Regions from separate parts of the Homo sapiens genome. Here regions 1, 2 and 3 are each linked to region 4. The links are contacts of gene promoters, found by promoter capture Hi-C in human tissues and cell types (Jung and others, 2019). All regions are on one chromosome and are shown on one strand. The core of a region is centred on a gene start or on the middle of the fragment in contact, and the rest is flanking DNA. Distances in the headings are between cores, read along the strand shown.

Evidence for each region. Contacts are between HindIII fragments. The study calls those that stand out against the background at their distance.
Region 1: a contact is called between a fragment that was not itself captured here and the fragment with the promoter of AKAP7 in region 4, in 2 of the 25 tissues and cell types used here (H1 embryonic stem cells and mesendoderm cells).
Region 2: a contact is called between a fragment that was not itself captured here and the fragment with the promoter of AKAP7 in region 4, in 3 of the 25 tissues and cell types used here (aorta, dorsolateral prefrontal cortex and mesendoderm cells).
Region 3: a fragment that was not itself captured here is called in contact with the fragment with the promoter of AKAP7 in region 4 in 4 of the 25 tissues and cell types used here (H1 embryonic stem cells, liver, lymphoblastoid cells and 1 more).

Annotation. Positions count from the first base shown.
Region 1 is chr6:131,526,759-131,529,458 of GRCh38, reverse strand. No RefSeq gene overlaps it. Among named protein-coding and RNA genes, the nearest start is that of ARG1, 45 kb to the left of the region's middle. The HindIII fragment of the contact is 4,189 bases long and covers 1-2,700 here.
Region 2 is chr6:130,845,020-130,847,719 of GRCh38, reverse strand. All of the region lies in intron 19 of EPB41L2 (erythrocyte membrane protein band 4.1 like 2), which reads left to right. Among named protein-coding and RNA genes, the nearest start is that of SMLR1, 19 kb to the right of the region's middle. The HindIII fragment of the contact is 3,170 bases long and covers 1-2,700 here.
Region 3 is chr6:131,494,927-131,497,626 of GRCh38, reverse strand. No RefSeq gene overlaps it. Among named protein-coding and RNA genes, the nearest start is that of ARG1, 77 kb to the left of the region's middle. The HindIII fragment of the contact is 4,110 bases long and covers 1-2,700 here.
Region 4 is chr6:131,134,017-131,136,716 of GRCh38, reverse strand. It overlaps AKAP7 (A-kinase anchoring protein 7), which reads right to left and starts at 1,250. Exons shown (of 8, transcript NM_016377.4): 1 at 935-1,250. The coding sequence starts at 953. RefSeq lists enhancers at 623-682, 1,119-1,619 and silencers at 943-1,052, 1,203-1,292. The HindIII fragment of the contact is 8,304 bases long and covers 1-2,594 here.

The DNA of each region.
Region 1 (2,700 bases), core at 21-2,520, 390 kb before region 4:
GGAATTGAACAACCTGGTCCTGAATTACTACTGCGTACATAACAAAATGAAGGCAGAAATAAAGATGTTCTTTGAAACCAATGAGAACAAAGACACAATGTACCAGAATTTCTGGGACACATTTAAAGCAGTGTGTAGAGGGAAATTTATAGCACTAAATGCCCACAAGAGAAAGCAGGAAAGATCTAAAATTGACACCCTAACATCACAATTAAAAGAACTAGAGAAGCAAGATCAAACACATTCAAAAGCTAGCAGAAGACAAGAAATAACTAAGATCAGAGCAGAACTGAAGGAGACAGACAAACAAAAAAAACTTCAAAAATCAATGAATCCAGGAGCTGGTTTTTTGTTAAAAGATCAACAAAATTGATAGACCACTATCAAGACTACTAAAGAAGAAAAGAGAGAAGAATCAAGTAGACACAATAAAAAAATGATAAAGGGGATATCACCACCATTCCCGCAGAAATACAAACTACCATCAGAGAATACTATAAACACCTCTATGCAAATAAACTAGAAAATCTAGAAGAAATGGATAAATTCCTCGACACATACACCCTCCCAAGACTAAACCAGGAAGAGTTGAATCTCCGAATAGACCAATAACAAGTTCTGAAATTGAGGCAATAATTAATAGCCTACCAACAAAAAAAATCCAGGACCAGATGGATTCACAGCCGAATTCTACCAGAGGTACAAAGAGGAGCTGCTACCATTTCTTCTGAAACTATTCCAATCAATAGAAAAAGAGGGAATCCTCCCTAACTCATTTTATGAGGCCAGTATCATCCTGATACCAAAGTCTGACAGAGACACAACAAAAAAAGAGAATTTTAGACCAATATCCCTGATGAACATCGATGCAAAAATCCTCAATAAAATACTGGCAAACCAAATCCAGCAGCATATCAAAAAATTTATCCACCACGATCAAACTTGCTTCATCCCTGGGATGCAAGGCTGGTTCAACATACACAAATCAATAAATGTATTCCATCAGATAAACAGAACCAATGACAAAAACCACATGATTATCTCGATAGATGCAGAAAAGGCCTTCGACAAAATTCAACAGCTCTTCATGCTAAAAACTCTCAATAAACTAGGTATTGATGGAACGTATCTCAAAATAATAAGAGTTATTTATGACAAATCCACAGCCAATGTCATACTGAATGGACAAAAACTGGAAGCATACCCTTTGAAAACTGGCACAAGATAAGGATGCCCTCTTTCACCACTCCTATTTAACATAGTGTTGGAAGTTCTGGCCAAGGCAATCAGGCAAGAGAAAGAAATAAAGCGCATTCAATTAGGAAAGAGGAAGTCAAATTGTCCCTGTTTGCAGATGACATGATTGTATATTTAGAAAACCCCATCGTCTCAGCCCAAAATCTCCTTCAGCTGATAAGCAGCTTCAGCAGTCTCAGGATACAAAATCAATCTGCAAAAACTCACAAGCATTCCTATATACCAATACCAGACAGAGAGCCAAATCATGAGTGAACTCCCATTCACAATTGCTTCAAAGAGAATAAAATACCTAGGAATCCAACTTACAAGGGAAGTGAAGAACCTCTTCAAGGAGAACTACAAACCACTGCTCAATGAAATAAAAGAGGACACAAACAAATGGAAGAATATTTCATGCTCATGGATAGGAAGAATCAATATTGTGAAAATGGCCATACTACCCAAGATAATTTATAGATTCAATGCCATCCCCATCAAGCTACCAATGACTTTCTTCACAGAATTGGAAAAAACTATTTAAAGTTCATATGGAACCAAAAAAGAGCCCACATTGCCAAGGCAATCCTAAGCCAAAAGAACAAAGCTGGAGGCATCATGCTACCTGACTTCAAGCTATACTACAAGGCTGCAGTAACCAAAACAGCATGATACTGGTACCAAAACAGAGATATAGACCAATGGAACAGAACAGAGGCCTCAGAAATAACACCACACATCTACAATCATCTGATCTTTGACAAACCTGACAAAAACAAGCAATGTGGAAAGGATTCCCTATTTAATAAATGGTGCTGGGAAAACTGGCTAGCCATATGTAGAAAGCTGAAACTAGATCCCTTCCTTACACCTTATACAAAAATTAACTCAAGATGGATTAAAGACTTAAATGTTAGACCTAAAACCATAAAAACTATAGAAGAAAACCTAGGCAATACCATTCAGGACATAGGCATGGGCAAGGACTTCATGACTAAAACACCAAAAGCATGGCAACAAAAGCCAAAATAGACAAATGGGATCTAATTAAACTAAAGAGCTTCGGCATGGCAAAAGAAACTACCATCAGAGTAAACAGGCAACCTACAGAATGAGAGAAAATTTTTGCAATCTACTCATCTGACAAAGGGCTAATATCCAGAATCTACAAAGAACTCAAACAAATTTACAAGAAAAAAACAAACAATCCCATCAAAAAGTGGGCAAAGGATATGAGCACACAATTCTCAAAAGAAATTTATGCAGCCAACAGACACATGAAAAAATGCTCATCATCATTGGTCATCAGAGAAATGCAAATCAAAACCACAATGAGATACCATCTCATACAAGTTAGAATGACAATCATTAAAAAGTCAGGAAACAACAGATGCTGGAGAGGATGTGGAGAAATAAGAATGCTTTTACACTGTTGGTGGGAGTGTAAACTAGTTCAACCATTGT
Region 2 (2,700 bases), core at 123-2,622, 290 kb after region 4:
GGAAACCAGTTTTTTAAAGAAGTAAGAGTCCTCATGGGATATCATAGATATAGTTAATCAACAAAAGAGAACAGAAAAATGAACCTGATGTTTTTCTACTTAAACAAGAAAATTGGCAGATGAGAGTAATGGTAAACATGGGAATTAGTGCTTCTTCCTAAAGATATAATGCAATTCTGTTGTTTTTTTTCCCTGCCGTTTCCTCAAGCTCTTATTCTTCAGTCTTACGTTACAAATTAGTCCCTGATACTTTCACTTCTGGATTCATTAATCTATATTATGAGCCTGTTATGTTCAAGGGACTATTATAGTTGTGTGTGAGAGGGGAAGGCATAGGAACATGCATAAAAATAATGTTCAGGGCACAAAAATAGTATATTTGAAGAGAAGCCTAGATAAAGGGCTGTGGAAGTTGACAGGAGAAATGCTTCTGATTGGCCAAACAAGACAAAGCTCTCCAGAAAGGTTGCAGGAAAGCTCCTCTGTGCAAAGCACCAAGGGCAATCTGGATAGTTGGAGATTGGGGAGGGAAGAAAGAGCACATGGGAAAACAATGGGAAGGATGTCGGGAAAAGCAAACCTCCATCGTGGTTATGTATAGAGTTCTCAGCACAGCTGGAAACATTTGTTGAAGGCAAATTGCAGATGGTCTTACATGCCATGTCCTTTAGTAATATGAATTTATCAGTAGTGTGTATGATTGACTGAAAAGCTTCTAGATTAGATGAAGTACCCTGTAAAGAAATCAAGATACTGGTTCAGACAGTTAGTAATGGGGATACTGAACTGGACATCTCTAAGAGTAAGATTGAATTTAACTTGGAAGCAAAGCCAGGAGTAAAATATCATAGGAACATCTATAAAAGTTAAATCCGATATTTTTTTGCTTTTCAGTCAGATGAAGCTCAGTATCTTTATTACTATTTGAAGTAAAGTTATATTAGCATGTAGGCCTTTGAGAGTAATACAGTTCATTCAGAGGACACAGGGCTCAGGAAGGTCAACCCAGTCCCAAAAGGCCTGAAGATGGGACTTGGGCCTTAAAGGACCCACAGAAGAGCCTCCTAAGAAGGTGGGGTCTCCAAACAGCATGAACATGTTCCAGCAAACCAGGAAAAGCAAAAGCATTTTGCTGAATTATTTGTAGAACAGATACTGTGCTTCATTTGACTGCAGAGAAAAACACTGGATTTAATTTCTCCCTGTACTCAGCAGATACACAAATATCTGTGACAGAAGAAAACGGCAGTAGTTTAGTGATAGCAGATTGGACATAAGCAGTTCTCAAACTGAATGGTCTCAGGACCACTTTATACACCTAAAAATTATTGAAGGCCCAAAGAGATTTTGTTCATGTGAATTGTATCTATTGAAATTTATCATAAGTCAAAACTGAGAAGTTTTATAAATATTTATTAAGTTAAAAATCATCACATAGTGAAAGAAGTCTGTCTAGAAAGACTATATATGTTGTATGATCAAACTGTATGACATCCTGGAAAAGGTAAAATGATGGAGACAGTAAAAGGGTCATTCGCTGCCACTGATCTCCTCAAGAGTCTTAATATCGGGAAGCTATCAAGCTCATGGTGGCCAAAACACCATTTTCCAAATTCTAATGTTCACCTAAAAGCTTGCATTTTATCATTGGCAACAAGTACTGTCAATTGTTTCTCTTGAGGCGACAGGCTCAACTTCATTTTCAATAAAAGGTTTACCTAGTATCCAAATTGAATAACATCCCTTGTCTGTCAGTGATTCTCTCAAGTAAGAAAGGTGGTTGATGAAAAAGCAGCTGCTTCAACTCACAGTTCAGACATTCCCATAGATGCTTTTCCTCTAGACATTGTTGTACTTCTGTATGCAGCGGGAATGGCGTGTGCATACTTCCCATTTCATCACACAGAATATTAAAAAGATGCACTCAGGCTTGAGATGTAGGAAAATTAATATTTCTTCTGTGTCCTCAAGGACTTCCTTAAGTGAAACTGTCTTCTCTATTTTACTGCAAGTGCACACTGGTAAAGAATAAGGTGCCAGGCCAGGCCTGGTGGCTCACGCCTGTAATCCGAACACGTTGGGAGGTTGAGGTGAGAGGATTGCTTGAGGCCTGGAGTTCGAGACCAGACTGGGCAGTATAGCAAGAGCTTGTGTCCACAAAAAACTTTTTAAAAATTAGCTGGGTGTGATGGTATGTGCCTGTAGTCCTAGCTACTTGGGAGGCTGAGGCAGGAGGATCCCTTGAGTCCAGGAGTTCAAGGCTGCAGTGAGCTATGATTGCACCACTGCACCCCAGCCTGGGTGACAGAGCAAGACCCTGCCTCTAAAAAAAAAAGAATAAGGTTACCTCAAATATAGTTTGATTCCTCTGCTTCGACTTATGTAGGCTGAGCTGCCAGTAGATTTACTCACCATTATTTGTTTACACCATTGGTGAAAATGCCAACACACTGAAAAGGACATAATGTCTTAGTATGATAATGAAAACAGTTTTGACTCTATGGTCCCCTTAAAGAGACTCAGCAGTCCTCAGGGGCTGCAGGCTACACTTCGTGTATATTTTAATGGTAATACAGACATTTTAAGAATTGACTTTTTTCTGGGTTTAACCAAATGGAAATTTAGCATGCTTGCATTTTTGGCTCTGGGATTTTTATTTTATTTATTTATTTGTTTATTTGAGACAGTCTCGTTCTGGCA
Region 3 (2,700 bases), core at 172-2,671, 360 kb before region 4:
AATCCTGCCAACACCTTTATCTTGGACTTCCAGCCTCCAGAATGGAGACAAAGTAATTTCCATTGTTTGAGCTACCTAGGCTATGATACCTTGCTATGGTGGCCCAAGTTGACCCATAAAAAGAGCAAGATGGGGATGAGGGGGCAGTCAACATCTGCCACCCTGTCAACACATTATAGAAGCTCAATGAATCTTTGTTCTCTCACCCCTGAAACAAAAGATAGTACAAGAGAGGCTGAAGGAGAATAGTTCAGTGGGAATTAAAAAGACATTGAAGGAAGAATTGATGATGATTGTTTGGTTGTAAATGAAAACTAAGGGGTGGCAGAGACTCAAACACGGTTGAGACTCAGAGCAGGCAAAAACAGGGCCACTGAAGAAGTTAAGAGTCCCATGAGAAGACACAAGAATAGTGTGGATGAGAATGCTTTTGAACAATTTCCATCTAAGAGGCCTGTGGCGTATCCTGTCCTTGGGGCCAGGGAATTAAAGGTGGTGGTAATAATGAAATTAACAGTGTTGGACCTGACTGAGAGCACAATACATATAAATGCATCATTATCTGACTTGCATGAAATACCAAGAAAAATTGTATTTGCTCTGCATTAAAATTTTTGGTGAGACATATATTATTATCTCAGAATAACCTGAAATCAAGGAATTACTTCTCTATAATAATTTGAAGCTTGGGACAGAACCCTACATTTCTAATTCAGTCTCATTTTTTTCTCTTCAAATTATAAAAATGATGGCAGACTAGTTTGCTTTTCCAGTGTCATGGAATCATCTTTCTGCCCCTCAGGAATCTGTCTTTGTTCAAGAAGGGAAAGATTCCATTGCGTGATGTGGGAAGCACACAGTACTGGTTGGGAAAAAAGCATCACTGAATAATAAGATATTTCATAAATCTGAATTTAGAAACATAACCTTCTAAGTAATTTTTTCCCTAGAATTCACAAAGCTCTAAATTGCTTTAAAACAATTTGACAGCAGCAGGGTATATCTGCCTAAGTACCACTGAAATGTTCTCCTTTTATTGCTTTTTGTCCTTTATGCTTGACTTACTCTAACCATCTTTAAATTATTCATCATACTGCGGGGAATCATTTAAAAGGACTATCCTTGGATATCACTCCTAATAAGGTGAAAGAGATTCCCACCTCTCCCAAATTCATTTATGGACCCTTCCACACCTGACAGTCTTCTTCTCTACCATGTCCTGCCATCAGTTTGGATAACTATAATATCCATGCTGAAAATTTATTATTCAGGGGTCTCAGTTCCTGGGCCTTATTCGTAAATTGAGAGTACTCACATAGCCAAAGCTAGTGAGTTAGAAAGCAGATAAAAGAGTAGAATTATTAAATAAAATCAGACTTATTTCTTCCAAAAAAAAAAAAAATACAAAGAATGGCTAAGATTAATCAGGGAAAAAAGAAAAACCAAAAATGTCTAACTTAGTCAATGAGAAAGGCAGTAATGGGACAGATTTGGAAGATTGTAATAAAATATTTGTATAACTTTTTACCAACAAATGTGAAGATCTAGATGAAATTGCTGATTTTCTGGGAAATATAAATTTTAAAAAATTTCTCAAGAATAAGTAGAAAATCTGAATAGACCAATAACCAGTGGAAAACTTTAAGAAAATTATCAAAGATCTACTTTTAAAACACGTGCCCTACCCAGGTGATTTTATATGTAGGTCCCTTCTGATTTTCAAAGAACAAACAGCTCCTATGTTATTTAAATCATTGCTGAACATAAGAAGATAGAAACCTTTCCAATTCATTTTAGAATACTAACATATTTATACTAAATCTGATATAGATAGCACATAAGAATAAAACATAGATCAATTTCATCTATGAATATGGTGCTTTCTTAAACAATTTTGTCAGAATTTTCATGCCCAGTAATCCCAGGCTTCTTCCTCTTCCTTCCTAAATCCTGTATCTCTATGCTGGGAGGTGACGGAAAGTTAAAGGAGTGTAAAGTGAATTTAGAACGTTAAGAAATGCCAAAGCAGAAAGTAAAATGTGGTTGTAAATGAGTTCTAAGGTATTTACAAATGACTTGCAAATTATCACGGTCAAGCTTTAAAATATAAGGGGATTTCGTGATTTATTTGCTCACAAAATAAATACTGATGATCAGCAGTTTATCTACATTCTAGAGGGTGTAGCCTAGAGACCCAGATCTTTGGGGGAAAAAATCACTCTCCACTGTAGATTATTTATTGCACTCAGTGGACTAATTCTCAGTTTCAGGTGAGCACAACACAGTAGACAAGTTAGTGACTACTCCTTAGTCTTATCCACAATTATGCTAAAAAATGTGATCCAAGGGAAAGTGGATGGCCACATGAACACAGCTGGTTCAAAAGTAAAAGAGGAAAATTGTCAAATTCGGGTGGATAAACATGTGAAATCAGACATGCACACATACACACACACACACACGCGCACACACACACACACACGCACACATGCATACAACTCAAATTATGCCATGCTACGATTTCCTGAGCAGCTTTTAGAAGCCCACTGAATGAGTGCAACAATCTCTCCCATCCTAAATGCTCTTTTGCGATATAACTTTGTCATTTCTTCAATTAAAAGGTAGAGCCTGTTTCCCCTCTTCTTAAATCTAGGCTGACCCTGTGACCTATTTTTTTTTAAACTTTTTACTTGAAAATAA
Region 4 (2,700 bases), core at 1-2,500:
GTTAATAGTGTCCGAAAATGGATGAAAGGAGGAAGTAACCTCCACAAACATCTTAAACTTTATGAGTAAGGAAAATATACAGATATGCTAACAGGATCCTGAATTGCAAAGCCACGGCACTTAAACAAGGAACTGGAGTATGGCTCTTTTCTCCTTAACAATTTCCATTCCCATGCATTTCCTAAATGCAAAAACTCACTGTCATCATTCACTTAACAATTGTCAACATATTCACACGATTAACTGCTATTTATATAGTACACTTTAACGTTTTTATGCTTTTTATACTCTTCTATGAGTTTATCCTATGAAACTCTTGCAGAGGAGCACCTTTTCTCTAATTGGTTTGCGGACCCTTTTACCGAAAGTCCACCCCTAACTCGCTCTATCACAAAGTTCAGTTCACAACAAACGCTGACCTAAACTGGAAATTCATTCCGGGCGCTAGTGTAGACTTGGCGCCAGTTTTAAAAGCGGTCATGTCCAAACCTGGCAGAAAATCCTAAATGAGACAGTATGGTGGTTCGGGTGCTTAATATTTGTGATATAAGATAAAATCGAAATTTTACTAGGTTTTGTTTACATTTACCCACATCAACACCGTCGGAAGGAATGTGTACTGGCATGAACTTTGTGCAAAGGGTCACAGGATGAGAAAGGGAGAAAGAAAAGTGAAACTCGGGGATGGGCTCATACCCCCGCCTCCTGTCGGACCCACAATGCGTGCATTAAAACGCTTCGCTACAGGCAGCACTGATGTACACCCCGGTTGCACCGGGCTTCTCGGTGCTACCCTGAGTCCTTTTGGGAAGGAGGGAGACTCGGAGAAGGGCCGGCGCGGGTCAGGCCCTCCCAAAGTTCGAGCGCAGAGCAGGCCCAGGCCCCCGCGGCTCCTGTCGCCCCCGCCCCGGCCCGCTGGACAGCCCGGTCTCACCCGCTTCGGGGCGCTCCATGGTCGCGGCGCATGCGGGCGGCGCGTCTGGGCTGGCGGCAGCGGCGGTGGCGGGCCGCGTCCCGGGGCTGGAGGCGAGGCCGAGGCGGAGGCCAGGGCGGGGCTCGGGGCCTGAGGGCGGTGCGCTGGGCCGGCGCGGGGTCCAGCGACAGGCTGCGGGGGCCCGGGCGGCGGAGGCCAGGCCTGCGGAAGCGCGGAGCTTCCCAAGCCGCAGCCCCCGCGGCAGCGGCAGCAGCGGCGGCGGCAGCCGCAGCAGCCGCAGCACCCGCATGCCAGGCCGGACGCCGGAACAAGCCAGAAGGGGCCGACCCGAGTCGCCGGTGGTACCCGGATTCGGGCGAGAGGCGCGGACGCGCTCGGGCAGGGCGGGGGAAACTAGGGCCGGCGACTGCGGCGTCACGGCAGCCCAGGTCGTCTCGACTCTGCAATGCGACGCTGGGTCTTCGCCTGCCTGCCGAGCCCCGCGGCCTCCGACGGCCTTTGGCAGCCCTCATTTATTTCCCGTGGCGCAGCCTTGCCCCTCCCACGCTTTCAAGGGCGAGATTGGGACTAGGATGAAAGAATTCTCTGGCCTGGTGTCTTTTGAGAATCCATGTGCTTAGTTTTGCAATCAGGGTTCTGATTGCAGAATATTTGGGAAGAGCGAAATGTACAAGAACGAGACCTTGTACTTCTGTATAATGAGATACTTTATTTACCTTACTTTTAAAAACTGCAAATTGTGACAAAGTCTCTAATTTTTAACAATGATGTTATGTTTAGACATTAAGAGGAAACCAGTTGCTGGTTCTTGTAGTATAAGGTACTGCAGTGAGTAAATTGGGAGAAAAAGAAATTTACTTAGTTTAAAAAAATAAAAACCTTTCACTTGAAACGGAATGCTATTGGGATTGGTTTTAGTGCGAAGAAACCAGGGGTTAAGAACATTAGGTGCATCCGTCCACAAATTAGCGCCTTTCGTGAATAATAACACTTCGCTTATGTTGAATGCATCGTAGAATAGGGATGGAAGAAAAGAAGACCCCTACACAGCCACAACAGCTGGCGTAAAGGCTGCACACTAGAAGTCGGCAAACTAGTTACTCTGATTTTCAAATAATTCTAACACGTTGAGTTTCTGATGCCCATTTATGGGCTGGTAGGAAAGTACAACCAGTTCCCCTAATATTTATTTAATGCTTGAGCTCTGTGCTGAGGATGTGCAGGTAAGACAGGTCTTTTACTTATGGAGCTGATCATATAATAGCAGAGAAAGAAACATAAGTAACTGCGGAAATAAAAGCTGCAAAAATGTGGTCCACATTCATAGTGAAGAGGATGAGAATATGCCACCCCAAATATGCCACTTCAGCATAAGGATTATTCTTGAGCTTAAAACAGTTCAGAAACTAAAGACTCAGGAACAACTTTGACCTCCCCCTTTCTGCCTAAAAGCAGGACATAAATTTCCCTTCGTAAAGGTGACATAAATTTTTATTTTTAAAGCTTTACCAGGCCGGGCCCAGTGGCTCACGCTTGTAACCCCAACACTTTGGGAGGTCAAGGCGAGTGGATCACTTGAGTCCAGGAGTTTGAAACCAGCCTGGGCAACATAGCAAAACCCTGTCTCTACCAAAAATACAAAAATTAACCAGACGTGGTGACCCATGCCTGTAATCCCAGCTACTCCAGAGGCTGAGGTGGGAGGATCGCTGGAGCCCAGGAGGTGGAGGTTGCAGTGAGCTGAGATGATGCCATTGCACTCCAGT